2 separate regions of the Homo sapiens genome follow, and region 2 is linked to region 1. The links are contacts of gene promoters, found by promoter capture Hi-C in blood cells and fetal thymus (Javierre and others, 2016). All regions are on one chromosome and are shown on one strand. The core of a region is centred on a gene start or on the middle of the fragment in contact, and the rest is flanking DNA. Distances in the headings are between cores, read along the strand shown. Region 1 holds the start of CFAP90 (cilia and flagella associated protein 90). Region 2 has its middle 110 kb from the start of LINC02123.

The links. Contacts are between HindIII fragments. The CHiCAGO score rates a contact against its expected background, and 5 or more counts as called.
Region 2: a contact is called between a fragment that was not itself captured here and the fragment with the promoter of CFAP90 in region 1, in 2 of 17 cell types (M1 macrophages and M2 macrophages). The highest score is 5.7, in M1 macrophages.

Annotation. Positions count from the first base shown.
Region 1 is chr5:7,848,021-7,854,364 of GRCh38, forward strand. It overlaps CFAP90 (cilia and flagella associated protein 90), which reads right to left and starts at 3,113. Exons shown (of 3, transcript NM_001089584.3): 1 at 2,855-3,113. The coding sequence starts at 3,001. It also overlaps a transcript of MTRR not described here. The HindIII fragment of the contact is 6,768 bases long and covers 1-3,440 here.
Region 2 is chr5:7,238,604-7,244,947 of GRCh38, forward strand. No RefSeq gene overlaps it. Among named protein-coding and RNA genes, the nearest start is that of LINC02123, 110 kb to the right of the region's middle. The HindIII fragment of the contact is 184 bases long and covers 2,396-2,579 here.

The DNA.
Region 1 (6,344 bases), core at 1,863-4,362:
TTATTTTTTCCACTGTTTATCTCATGCGGTGCATTACTGCTATGCATTAATCATAAGCTGATTGGCAGTCACATGAGTATTGCATACTTAAAATGTAAAATTCATTTAATAAATGAGATTATGTATAGGTAACAGTTCTTTCAAAACATATTGCTCCCAGGAGGAAAAAAATGAAGTCCCTGGTGGCAATGAGATTGGGAACTTACCATTCCCTCGTGTTTCCCTCCTGTCTTAATATTCAGAGGATAATCGAGCCTGGGAGAACAGGCAAACAGGGCTGCAGAGACAGATCTGATTGCAAATGTCCCTTTTCCCCCTGTCCTTGCATATTGCTCAAAGCCAAGCAGAGAGGAGCTATCAGATACCAGAGATCCTCCTGGGAGCAGGCTGAGGTTTATGGCTGCCGTATTTGTCAGCTGGGGCTGCACAAACTAAGTACCATGGATGACGTGGCTTAACCAACAGAATTCACTGTCTCACAGTACTGGCACCAGAAGTATGGAATCAAGCAGTTGGCTGTGAAGGAATGCCCTGTTCCAGGCCTTTCCCTGAGGCTTGTAGGCAGCTGTCTTCTCCCTGTGTCCCTTTACATCATCCTCCCTGATATGGTTTGGCTGTGTCCCTACCCAAATCTCATCTTGAATTGTAGTTCCCATAATTCCCACATGTCCTGGGAGGGACCGTCTGGAGATAATTGAATCATGGGGGCAGTTCCTCCCATCCTGTTCTCGTGATAGTGAGTTAGTTCTCACAGGACCTGATGGTTTTATAAGGGTCTTGCCTCTTCACTGTGCACTCATTCCTCTTCATGCTGCCACGTGAAGGACATATTTACATCTCCTTCTGCCATGATTATAAGTTTCCTGAGTCCTTCCCAGCCATGCTGAACTGTGAGTCAGTTAAACCTCTTTCCTTTATAAATTACCGAGTCTTGGGTATGTCTTTATTAGCAGTGTGAGAAAGGACTAATACATGCATGTCTGTCTCTATATATCCAAATTTCCCCTTTTCTCAAAGACACCAGTCATACTGGAATAGGGCTCATCCTAGTGGCCTCATTTTATTTTGATTATCTCTGTAAAATTCTATTTCCAAATAAGTTCACATTCTAAGGTACTGGGGATTAAGACTCCAAAACATAAATTTCAAGGGGACACAATTCAACCGACAGCAGTTGTCTAAACTAGAAACACGATTGCTTCTGTTGGTGAGGCTGTCCAAGAGTGCTTACACTTTATGTGTGGCATGCAGGCCAGTGTGTGCTAACCCAGTCAGAAGGGGAATTTATTTAGGGTCTAGGATGGTGGGGGCAGGAGGTGGGGAAAGGAAGGATGCATTTTCTGGGAACACCTTATACACCATAAGGGAACGATCTCCTTCCCCCTAGACACCTGGCTAATCTATATCCCTCTCTACCCACTCAAGCCACCAGGACAGCTAGAATTAGAAAGACCTGTCCCAGTTACGCCTGCAGGCTGAGGGTCCTCAATGAATGCTCCTTTTCAGTAATGACTCCCCTGCCCCTGCATCTTGAGCAAGACAAACCGGGGACATTTAGGAACAATGGTGAGAAGAAAGGAGTAGATGACCCTCAACTGGCTTTGAATTTACTACTTTTCCTGCCTTTGGCCGCTGGTGGGAGATGCAGGGTGCCCAGTGGCCTTCGCAGACTCGCAGATCCCATCCCAGGAAATGCACGGGCCGGTGTGGCCAGGACAGAACAGAGGGACCACTCTCAGTCCAGCCCTCCCTGCAGGCGGCTCGCCAGCTATTCCTTCTGGTCTTCGGTTTGCAGGAGGGCAGAGGGTTTCCCGCGCCCTGGACCATCCGGGCGTAGTCCCGGCAGCAAGGCCTTCTTTCCTTGCTAGCCTGGGCCTGCCGCAGACAGACCCCAGAGGGAGCCGCGCCCAGCCCGCTGGGCGGCCCCGGCTTCCCGCGACCCCCTCCAGACCCTGGGCAGAAAGAGCGCCCTGCTGTCCCGACAGAGCCACTGTGCTTTTGAGGGATCCTGACACCTAGTGGCTCCCGCTCCCTTCTCCGAAGAGCACCGGGTCCTATCTGAGCATTCCCGCGACTCCCAGCCCCTGATCGCAGCTAAGACACCCATTCGCGCACCCGGCTTCTCCCACATCCTCGTCCCAGGGGTTCAGCTGACACTGGTAGTCGCCTGAGCTGTACTCTTTGGGGCCCAGGCGCCTTGGCGGGAGCTCACCCTCCCTGTCTCCCCAGCTGACCCTGCCGCGCCCCCTTCATCTCCGCACGCTCCCACCCGGCCCCCTCCACAGGCTGTCCAGCCCCGCCCCTCGGAACCCACCCCTGGTAGTGAAGCCCTGCCCCCAGGGTCCCTGCCCGAAGGTGCGCTCCTCCTCTAGGGCCCCTCTACTCTGTGAGCTCTGTCCCCGATCCCTAGCGGTGCAGCCCCTCCCAGGGCCCCTCCTCGTTGTGAGCTCCTCTCTCCAGTCCCCGGCGGCGCATCCCTGCCCCCAGGCCCCCTCCCCTAAGGTGAACCCTGCCCCAAGGCCCCAGTCCCTAAGGTGAACCCCGCCCCCAGGCTGCCTCCCCTAAGGTAACCCCGCCCCCAGGCCCCCTCCCCTAAGGTGAGCCCCGCCCCTAGGCCCCCGCCCCTAAGGTGAGCCCCGCCCCCAGGCCCCTTTCCCTAAGGTGAACCCCGCCCCTACGCCCTCCCTCCGAGGGAGAGCCCCGCCCCAAGACCCTTCCGCTGGGGTGATCCCTTCTCCCCCGCCCCTCCGCGGCCGCCCGCCCCTGCCCAGCCGCCCAGCCGCCCAGCCGCCCAGCCGCCCAGCCGCCCAGCCGCCCAGCCTTCCGGTCTCCGCGCCCAGTCCGCGGTCCTCACCCGCGCCGGGCGGTAGTAGTAGCTGTGCTCTTTGGGGTCCAGGCGCCGCGGCGGGATGTAGCTGAAGGCGGACTGCGCCGAGACGGGCGGCGGCCTGGGCTTGCCCCGCAGCGTGGACGCGGTGGTCTCCTCCTCGTCGTCCTCCATGCCGCCACCGTCCAGCGCCCCCGCCTTGGCCGCGGTCCGTCCCGCCCGCCCAGGGGCCCAGTCGGAGTCTGCAGGCCTCAGGTTGCTCAGCGCCAGCGTCTAGCCCGCGTCTGTGTTCGGTCGTTGCCTGGAAACCGCCGCCTGGCGACCCGGAGCTGCCCTGCAGCATTCCCGCTCCAGGGTGGAGCGACCCTCCCCTCCTCCCTCCCGGCCCCTCGACTACACCTGGGGTCTCTCCTTCCTTCCTCCTCGGGAGGAGCCCGACTGGGAGACGCCGCGGGGACTACCCATTTCCAGCCCGCTCACCTTTCCCATGCAGCAGCCCCTGCTTCACTCACTGATCACTCCTTCGCGAGACCATTAGTGACTGAGCACCTAGCGCATGGTGTGTCAGGAGCTGGAGATTGAGCCTTGAACGGAGCAGGCCTTGTCCACAGGAAGCTTACAGTCTGGAGAAGACACATGAAAGACGCGAAGAAGCCAAATGACTTGCCGAGGCTCCAGGGCAGCGCTGTCCAATAGAAACATGATGAGAGCCACGTGTGTCGTTTCTTATTTGACTCAGTAAGTCCAAAACGTTATCATTTCAACAAATGGCACTAGCTGCCTTTCAAGCTCTCGGTGGCCACGTGTGGCTAGCAGTTACAGTATTGGCCAGTGCAGGTGTAAGGCTGCATGAATTTACAGAATCTGGCAGAACTCAGCTGCTGTGGACAGGGCTCTTGCAATCCTTTGCCAGTGTGTTTACGTTGGCCCTTGATCTGAATGCTGGGTCAATACCTGCGTTCCGTTTGTTGAAAATGTGTTAAGCTGTATACTCGTGATTGGTGGGTGTACAGCCAAGAAAAGTTAAAAACAAACAAACAAAAAAAGCCATGATGACCAAGGCTTGGGAAATGCTTTAGCCAGCGTGCCTGGGAAGGCCAGCCTTGCTGAGAAGGTGGTGTTTGAGATGAAGCATAGCGATAATGAGAAGCCAGTTCTGTGAGTCTGGCAATCCCTTCCAAGCCAACTTGGTCCTCTGAGGCAGAGACAATCTTGTGTTTGAATGGCAGCAGGAAGTGGGGTGGTGTGGCCTCATGAAGCCAGAAACTGGTAGGAAGTGAAGGTGAACAGATAGGTGGGGGCCTGATGGAGAGATCTTACAGATGATGGAAGGAGCAGTGCCCTGCCTTCTTCCCCATCCCTGCAACTAGGTAGGAATCTCTTGTCTGCCATTCTGTGATGCAGGCTGGTGGCTTAAGATGCCTCTCTCATTCTGAGGCACCTGGTGATCCACTCTGTAGAGGTCTCCAGAGTTCTAGAGATCCTTCTGGGCAGGATTTAAGACATCCCGGTGCCACCACGCTTTTTCTCTCTCTTTTTATTTATATCTGTCTCTCTCGTGGGTCCCCATGAGCTTCCTGAGAAACCCATGTGCCTTCTTTGTCCCACTAACACATCTTTTTGCTCCATGGCCAGGCAGAACACAAGTCAGCCATGAGTCAAGGGTCAGACACCTGCCCACCATGTCTCTAAGCCCCAGGGGACCTAGCAACCTCATTGGAGCCACTTGGAGAGGGTGACATATCCCTGGTGCTTGGAGATGGAGCACCATCTCTCCTACATGTGAAGCAAAGGAAAAGGGGCTCTTATTTTTCTCCCATGGGCTGAAGTCATGAAAGGCATGACTCATACTTTTTTGCTTTTTTGGCCTCATTAAAGCAGCAGCCAAATATGTTTTTTTTTTTTAAGCCCTTATAATCTACTGCCTCTCTCAACTTCTCTCAATGTCTCCAAATACACAAGAGAGGTCAACTAATGGTCACAAGATTTTGTAAGCTTTGCATTGGTGACCCAGTATCATACTTTGGAAAGTGAAAGTACTTGAAACCAATTATCTTGGGAATTCAGCTAAAACTGAGACCGAGATAATTTCTTAGTAAAAGAAATTAGTAAAGTTTACACAGTTATACAGATGTGAATCTGCTAACTTCAGTTCAGTCGGTGACATTTTGTCATGTCCTAGACCAAGAGCTCTTGAGGGCAAGGCTACCTACATCTTTTTCTTCTTGGATGGAGATATGGTTAGGCTTTGTGTCCCCACCTTAATCTCATCTTGAATTGTAATCCCCATAATCCCCACATGTCAAAGGAGTGACCAAGTGGAGATAATTGAATCCTGGGGGCCATTTCCCCCATGCTGTTCTTGTGATAGTGAATTCTCACAGGATCTGATGGTTTTATAAGGGGCTCCTCCCCTTTTGTTCAGTGCTTCTCCTTCCTGCCACCTTGTGAAGAAGGTGCCTTGCTTCCCCTTTGCTTTCTGCCGTGATTGTAAGTTTCCTGAGGCCACCCCAGCCATACTGAACTGTGAGACAATTAAAACTCTTTCCTTTATGAATTACCCAGTCTCAGGTATTTCTTTATAGCAGCATGAGAACAAACTTATACAGATGGCTCAAGTCAGGCATACAGGCATACAGTAGGAAGTCAAATATTTGAGTCTGAGACAAGGGCCTGAGTTTATTTGGGAGGTAATTCCAGGGAACAGGAGAGAGGGACCAAGAGGAGCAAGAAGCAGGAGAGACACCAAGGATGCACTACCCAGGTCACTGCTGAAGGCAACTGGTGAATGGTCATGAACCTTTCTGAGGGGCCTGGAGAGGCCTTGAAGAATTGCCCCAGAGGATCAACATGGAGGCATGTTTCATCACTTGCTCCTGTCTGCTCGGTGGAGGCTCGCTCCTTCAGTTGTTGACTCCTGAACTTGTACGACCACTGCCCCAGGGCCTCACAGTCTCCCCTGGAGTGTCTTGCCTCCTTGGTGTCCGAGGAGCCCTAGGGCTGACAGCAAAAGACAGGGGCATGTACTGGAGGTGAGATGCTTCTTTCATGAGGTGAGTCATAGCCCCACGGAATGGTCCACCAGAGATGAGGGTGGAATGAGATGTGAGGCCCTGAGGATGCAGGGCAGGTTACCAGAGACAGATGAAACCATGGGCAAGGCAGACTTTGGCAATTTTGATTATTAAGAGGCTTTAGTTCCTTTTTTAAAAATACTCTTTTTAAAAAAGTATTTTCCTATATGATCTTATTATATATTCCCAGGTACATGAGTGGAATACAAGGTCACAGAGTCATACATTTAGGCTCCTCATGTCTGTACTCGTACTCAAAAGTTCTGTGCCGGAGAAGGGGAGGATGAAAGAAGCATAAAAACCCTCCTCTCAAAGGAGGCAAATTAATAGAGTAAGGACACACACTGGGGCTGGGTTAAACATAGTGTATTAGTGAGGGTTCCCTCAAGGGACAGAACTAATAGGATGTATATATATATCTATGTAAAGATATATATTATATA
Region 2 (6,344 bases), core at 1,238-3,737, 610 kb before region 1:
TCCTGCCTCAGCCTCCCGAGTAGCTGAGACTACAGGCACATGCCACCACGCCCGGCTAATTTTTGTATTTTTAGTAGAGACAGGGTTTCACCATGTTGGCCAGGATGGTCTCAATCTCCTGACCTCGTGATCCACCCGCCTTGGCTTCCCAAAGTGCTAGGATTACAGGCGTGAGCCACTGGGCCCGGCCTGCTGTATATTTTAAGGGAACACTGGGCTGATCTGTGGGGAATGGAGGATGGGAGTGCAGAAGGCCCAAGGTGTCTGTTTAGGAATTGGAAGGAGGTAAGAAATGCTGGGGGCTTTTCTTACTTAAATATCTTGCCTATCTCTTGTCTTTTGTCTTCCTGGTCTCCTTCCTTGTGCCTTTGTTGGCTAAAACTCTAAAAATTGAAGAAACAGCATTGCTTGGGCCACGTGTGGAATGCATAGCAATCATAAGATTAACAAGTTCCACCCTATTCTACATTTTTTTCCTAAATATGTAATATGCATGCGTGATGTTCTTGTTTTTCGGAAAAATGAGAATTATATAATAAGTCCTAAATATAGAATTTGTGGCAGAAACTTCAGAAATATTAATTAATTGTTCACAATTCAATGCAGGGTCTTGCTGCATAAATTCTTATTAAGCCAGAATGTGAATAGTACAAAACCAATGAATGAATATTTTATGCGTGATTCAGCAAGAGATTAGGAATGCCAAACCATTATGATAGGGAATTAAAAAGGAACTTAGAAAATCACAGCAACTAAAATGTTCACAATCAAGATGATTTGAGGTTTTTTTTTTTTCTTAAACAAGAGGCTTTTCAAGCTACCTAAACTGTATCTTTTCGTTAATTTAGTTTTATTGAGCTGGCCATGATAAAGAACTTCAGCATATTTTATATCATTTTATACTTGTTTTACTGGAGTGATTCACTTTAATTTTGCCTTCTGTGTATGATTTTTCTCTCAGAGATAGCTGACCCCAATACAATATATGAAGGAGTTAGCTTATAAAAACTGGACCTAACTACCATTTATTTTTTAGTTAAACATTTTGAGGTAATTACAGATCCACATGCAATTGTAGAAAATAACACAGAGATCCCACGTATCCTTTACCCAGCTTCTCCCAATGGGAACATCTTGAAAAAGTACACTACACTTTCATGTTCAAGATGTTGACATTGCTGGGCGTGGTGTCTCACGCCTGTAATCCCAGCACTTTGGGAGGCCGAGGCGGGTGGATCACTTGAGGTCAGGAGTTCGAGACCAGCCTGACCAACATGGTGAAACTCCGTCTCTACTAAAAATACAAAAATTAGCTGGACATGGTGGCAGGCGCCTATAATCCCAGCTATTCGGGTGGATCACTTGAGGTCAGGAGTTCGAGACCAGCCTGACCAACATGGTGAAACTCCGTCTCTACTGAAAGTATAAAAATTAGCTGGGCGTGGTGGCAGGCGCCTATAATCCCAGCTACTCGGGAAGCTGAGGCAGAATTGCTTGAACCTGGGAGGTGGAGGTTGCCATGAACCAAGTTCACGCCATTGCACTCCAGCCTGGACAAGAGTGAAACTCCATCTCAAAAATAATAATAATAAAAAAGATGTTGACATTGACATGATCCACCCGTCTTAGGTCTCCCAGTTTTCTCTGCATGTGTGCGTGCGCACACGTGCGTGTGTGTAGTTGTATATAATGTTATTAGATGTGCAGGTTCACATATCCACCACCAGTCAAGATTCAGAACCGTTTCATCTGAACACCAAAAAAAAAAAAAAGCTATTTTTTAATTGAGGTAAAACATGCACATGTCTTTTACCATCTTTACCATTTTTAAATGTACAGTTCAGTTGTAGGTAATAAATAGATTTATATTCGTTTTATCCCTTTCATCCTCCTCCCCTTCCCAGCCTCTGGTAACCACCAATCTACTCTCTATCTTCATGAGATCCATGTTTTAGCTCCCATGTATGAGTGAGAACATGCAATATTTGTTTTTCTGTGCTTGGTTTATTTCACTTAACATAATGGCCCTCAGTTCCATCCATGTTGCAAATGACAGGATATCATTCTTTGAATGGCTAAATAATATTTTACCTAGTTATCGGGTAAAATATTCACTTCAGTTTGCTTTTTCAAAATAGTTGTAGCTGTTCTAGGACCTTGCCTTCCTGTGTGACAATCAATTGATTTATCTGTTGGTCTATCTATCGCTCGTGAGCCCTATCTGTCTATTTTTAACTAAAGCATTTTAATCAGTGGCTCAGGATACATGAGGGTGTAATTCACACTACATGTCTTTGTCTTCTGTAACTATTATCTTGCTTCCTTGTTTTATGCCTCATGTGCACATTCTTCAAAAACATTCACTTAATTGGAAACTAAAGGGCATTCGCCTCTAAGCTTTGACAGCAGTGACCTTAGCTAAGTCAATGCTTAGGGTCTTTGAATTCATAGGAAGACTCCTATGAGTCAAGATTTTGAACATGATAGAAATGACATTTTTAATTCAAATATTTAGTTGTTCACAGCACCTTTATTTAGTAAGTGACACACTCAGATAAGACTATATTTTAAGCAACATAAGCTTACTTAGAAATAATATAAATGGACTTTTTCATGTTATATATTCTATTCCTGATGACCATAATCTCTTGCACCCTGGCAGAGATTTTATGAAACAGAAACCAAGTTTGACCCTAAAGATTAATAACACATGCAGCAATTGAAAGTTAGCTGCAAAGAAATAGAGAAAAGTATAATAAATATATATCTGTATTCCTTAAAACCCAGTGGAACTGAGAGGAAGAGAGAACATAATAGAGTAGCCTGAAAATACATTTTTGCTGAGTAAATTTTCCATCATCCAGGATAAAAAATATATATTCTCATTCATATTCTTCCAAGGCCATACATTTTATAATTTGCAGTGATGCAATATTCCAGAAAATGCTCCCATAACTATTGTTGTAAGCAATACAAGTAGGATATGATTTTTAAGGTTTAAAATAAGTGAACTGTTAATTTTCTGTTACTAAGTCACCTCTCCTAAACTTCTTGATTCTTTAGGAAATGGACTGAGTTTTGAAAAAATGTAATCGGCCACAATTAACTCTGTGTGTGTGTGTGTGTGTGTGTGTGTGTGTGTGTGTGTGTTTCCAGATTTAAAGTTAGAATATATTAAAAAGCTAGACAATATTAAAGCTAGATTATGTTAAGCTGAGAAACAGACAGAACATTGTTTTCCTAGAGAACTCATATATTTAGATGGCTGAAAACAGATTATTTTATAACAGATTATTAACTAGTTACTATTATTCAGATATGACAGACTCAATCTTCTATATATCTTAAGAAAAAACTTGTGACCACATATCAAGTAAGCATTTTAAATATAGGATGAATCTTTTTAGGTAAACAGTGAAAACTTAGCCTGGAGCTGTATCCACACCACAGCACATGTTTTGGAATGAAGTCAGCGGGGATAGCTGGGCAGGATGAGCTGTTTCTTTGCATTAGCATCGTGAGTCCCTCACGGCCAGCATGTTGCCATCACTTTTGCTTTTCTCGCCCCCAGAGTAGAACTACAAATAATAGAAGATATTAAATGCCTATGGTTTGCACAGAGCCATCCTGGATTGGTGGGAACAAGTAGCCATTGGGGTCAGACAAACATGCATAATGTCTGTATCAAACAAGGCAGAAGTTGCCAAGTTCCAAAGGACAAGCACGACGTGGCAGGGCACTCATGGGAAGCAGAGGCTACCAGTGATTGAGGAGGGGCAGGAAGAGTCTAATGGAAGAAGAGCCATGTTCACCCAATTCTGAATGTGTTTTGGCAGATAAAGAAGTAGGTCCTGGCCGCTTAAAGAAAAAAAAAAAAGGAAGAAGGAATCTTCAATAATAGCTCCAGCAGAGAGAAAGCCATTAGCGGGCTGAGAGCCAGGAGAACTGTGCTGTGAAAACGAACAATAAGAAAAGGCACTGGATTCAGCCACTTTGAGGAATAGCTCCAAAGAGAAGTGAGGGCCCACATTAATTCAATAAGTAGAAGTTTTCAATTTTTACTCCAACATATGTTTCTTGAGCGCCCATTGCATGTTAATCGTTGGGATAGAGTAGAGACAGCGAGCCCTTCTGCTCTGCCTTCCGGAACCTTGTAGTTTGGTGGTTGAGGCAGATGACAGGATCTGCGAGGGGTAATTAAGGAGAAGAGCCAGAGGCCACAGAAGGTGATAGTGAGGGGTCTCATTTGAGCCACATGGGCCACTGAGTGCTTTGATGCTAGGGCTGGTGTGATCCAGGTCACTCCAGTGGACTGGGGTGCGCAAGAATGGAAGGGGGGCACCCAGGATGCTCACAGCAATCCAGGCAAGATGAGAGAATGCCAGAGAGAGAGGCAACTTCGTATATTGAAGGTAGACTTTGGAGATGATTGGTAAATCTTAGCAATGCACGTGAGAGGGTGGGAGAGATTTCTGGGTACGGAGCCTGAGCAGCTAGGGGTGCCATTCTCTGCAAAAGAGATGGCTAAAAAAGGAGCAGTTTGGGGCAGGAAAGAAAATAACAGTAATACTGGAAATAATAAGCAAATCAGGTAAGACCTACCTGGAAGCATTTTTTTTTTTTTTCTGAGCAGTTGGTATCTGTTGTCTCCCTACAACCCCACAGCATCTCCATTTTGCAAAAGAGAAAACTGAAGACAAAGAGGATAGGCAAATGACCTAAGGTCACACACGAGCAGGACAGCCAGATGGCCACCCAGGACATCTGAATTTGTTTTAGGAAACAATGTCTTTGAGATGCATGTGGGAAATGCACATGGAAAGACATAAACATGAGACCCTTCCACATGAGCCAGGAGCTCAGAAGGTGATCTTCACTGCAGACAGACTATTGGCAATCTCTGGTATAAGGAGAAGGCATTTATTGAAGAGTGAGTGAAAGCTGAGTACAAGAGGCAGATATTACAGTGTCTTCTTTCAAGCAGAAAAGGAAAGAAGAGATGAGACGCATCCACAGGGAGTAAGGGAAGGTGGTTCAAGGACAGGGCAGATTAGACAAGATCCCCCTCCACTTCCACAAAGACAGTGGAAGATGCAAGGGTATCATCGAGCTGGAGCCTGAGGACTGCAGAGCATGGAGGGGTGAGGCCGTTGGCTGGGGGCACAGTGAGTGAGGCAGCAGGAGGAAGCTTTAGTCCCAGGCTAGTGTCACCCAGTGCAGGTGGAAGCCGCAGAAGAATCATGGCACAGATGCTCTGAAGAACATCTCAGACTAAGTGAGCACTCTACAAACACAAACTCAGACAAGACCTGCAGCAAACAACAATAAGGAACATCTTCCCCTACTTCATAAGTGAGAGGCATGAGAGCAGGCATCATACATTTGCACTCAAAGCTGTTTCATATTTTCTGAGGATGGTTCCAAGCAGATCTCTCTCTTTACTTCCACAGAAGAAGAAAAATAAATAAATTTCTGATAAGCTGAATTCTAGCAGAGTGTGGGAGAAAGGATGTTTTTTGAAATATTGGGAATAAAAAATATCTATTGCAACCCACGGTCATTAGTTTGTGTGTTTACTTTGGGGACTCTACATAGATATCCTTATGGCTTGAAGTAAGAATGGGATTGAGCCGTTTATTAAGTGCCTGGCTATTTGAGTTTCCAGGAGGAATAACGGCCTATCTAATGTAATGTGCTGGAAGTGGATCCCACATCAGCTGAGGTCAGGAGACCAGAGCACAGTCAATGGGCCCATGGGGAACACTGGGCACTGCACTGTGGACTCCTCCTGTGGTCTTGCGCTGCAGCAAGACCTGATCTCTGGACTCTGATCTTGTGCTACAAAACCTGATGACATCCCATTTCCAACCCCACTTCCTTCTCCTGGGCAGACAAATAAGGCAATTCTCAGTTTCCCCTGCAGCTCTGCTGGGGCTGTGTGATTGAATTCTGGACAACAGAATCTGAATAGATGTAATAGAAGCCAATTTTTAGGTGTGACCATAAGCCCCATTTCCCAGATATCCTCTTTGTCTCTCCCCATTTGCATAGCTGGAAGTCAAGAAGTCCAATATTTCAAAGGAGCACACGAAGCGGGATGGCTGAGTTACAGTTATTTTTTACAACAGGTAAAATCATGCATTTTTCATTAACTGTTCTGCCAATGCTGAAAGTTAAAGTTAAGGACAGCAAGCCCAGAAGCAAGGAGCAGGGGGAGGCTGGGGGATCCAGGGACGGAGGCTGGAGAGCATGGGCAGGTTGGAAAGTCTCAGAGGAGGGAAAATCAGCTGGGATTGCAGCTTGAAGGGTGTGGGAAAGGTTAAGTGCCTCTCAGGGATTTTTTG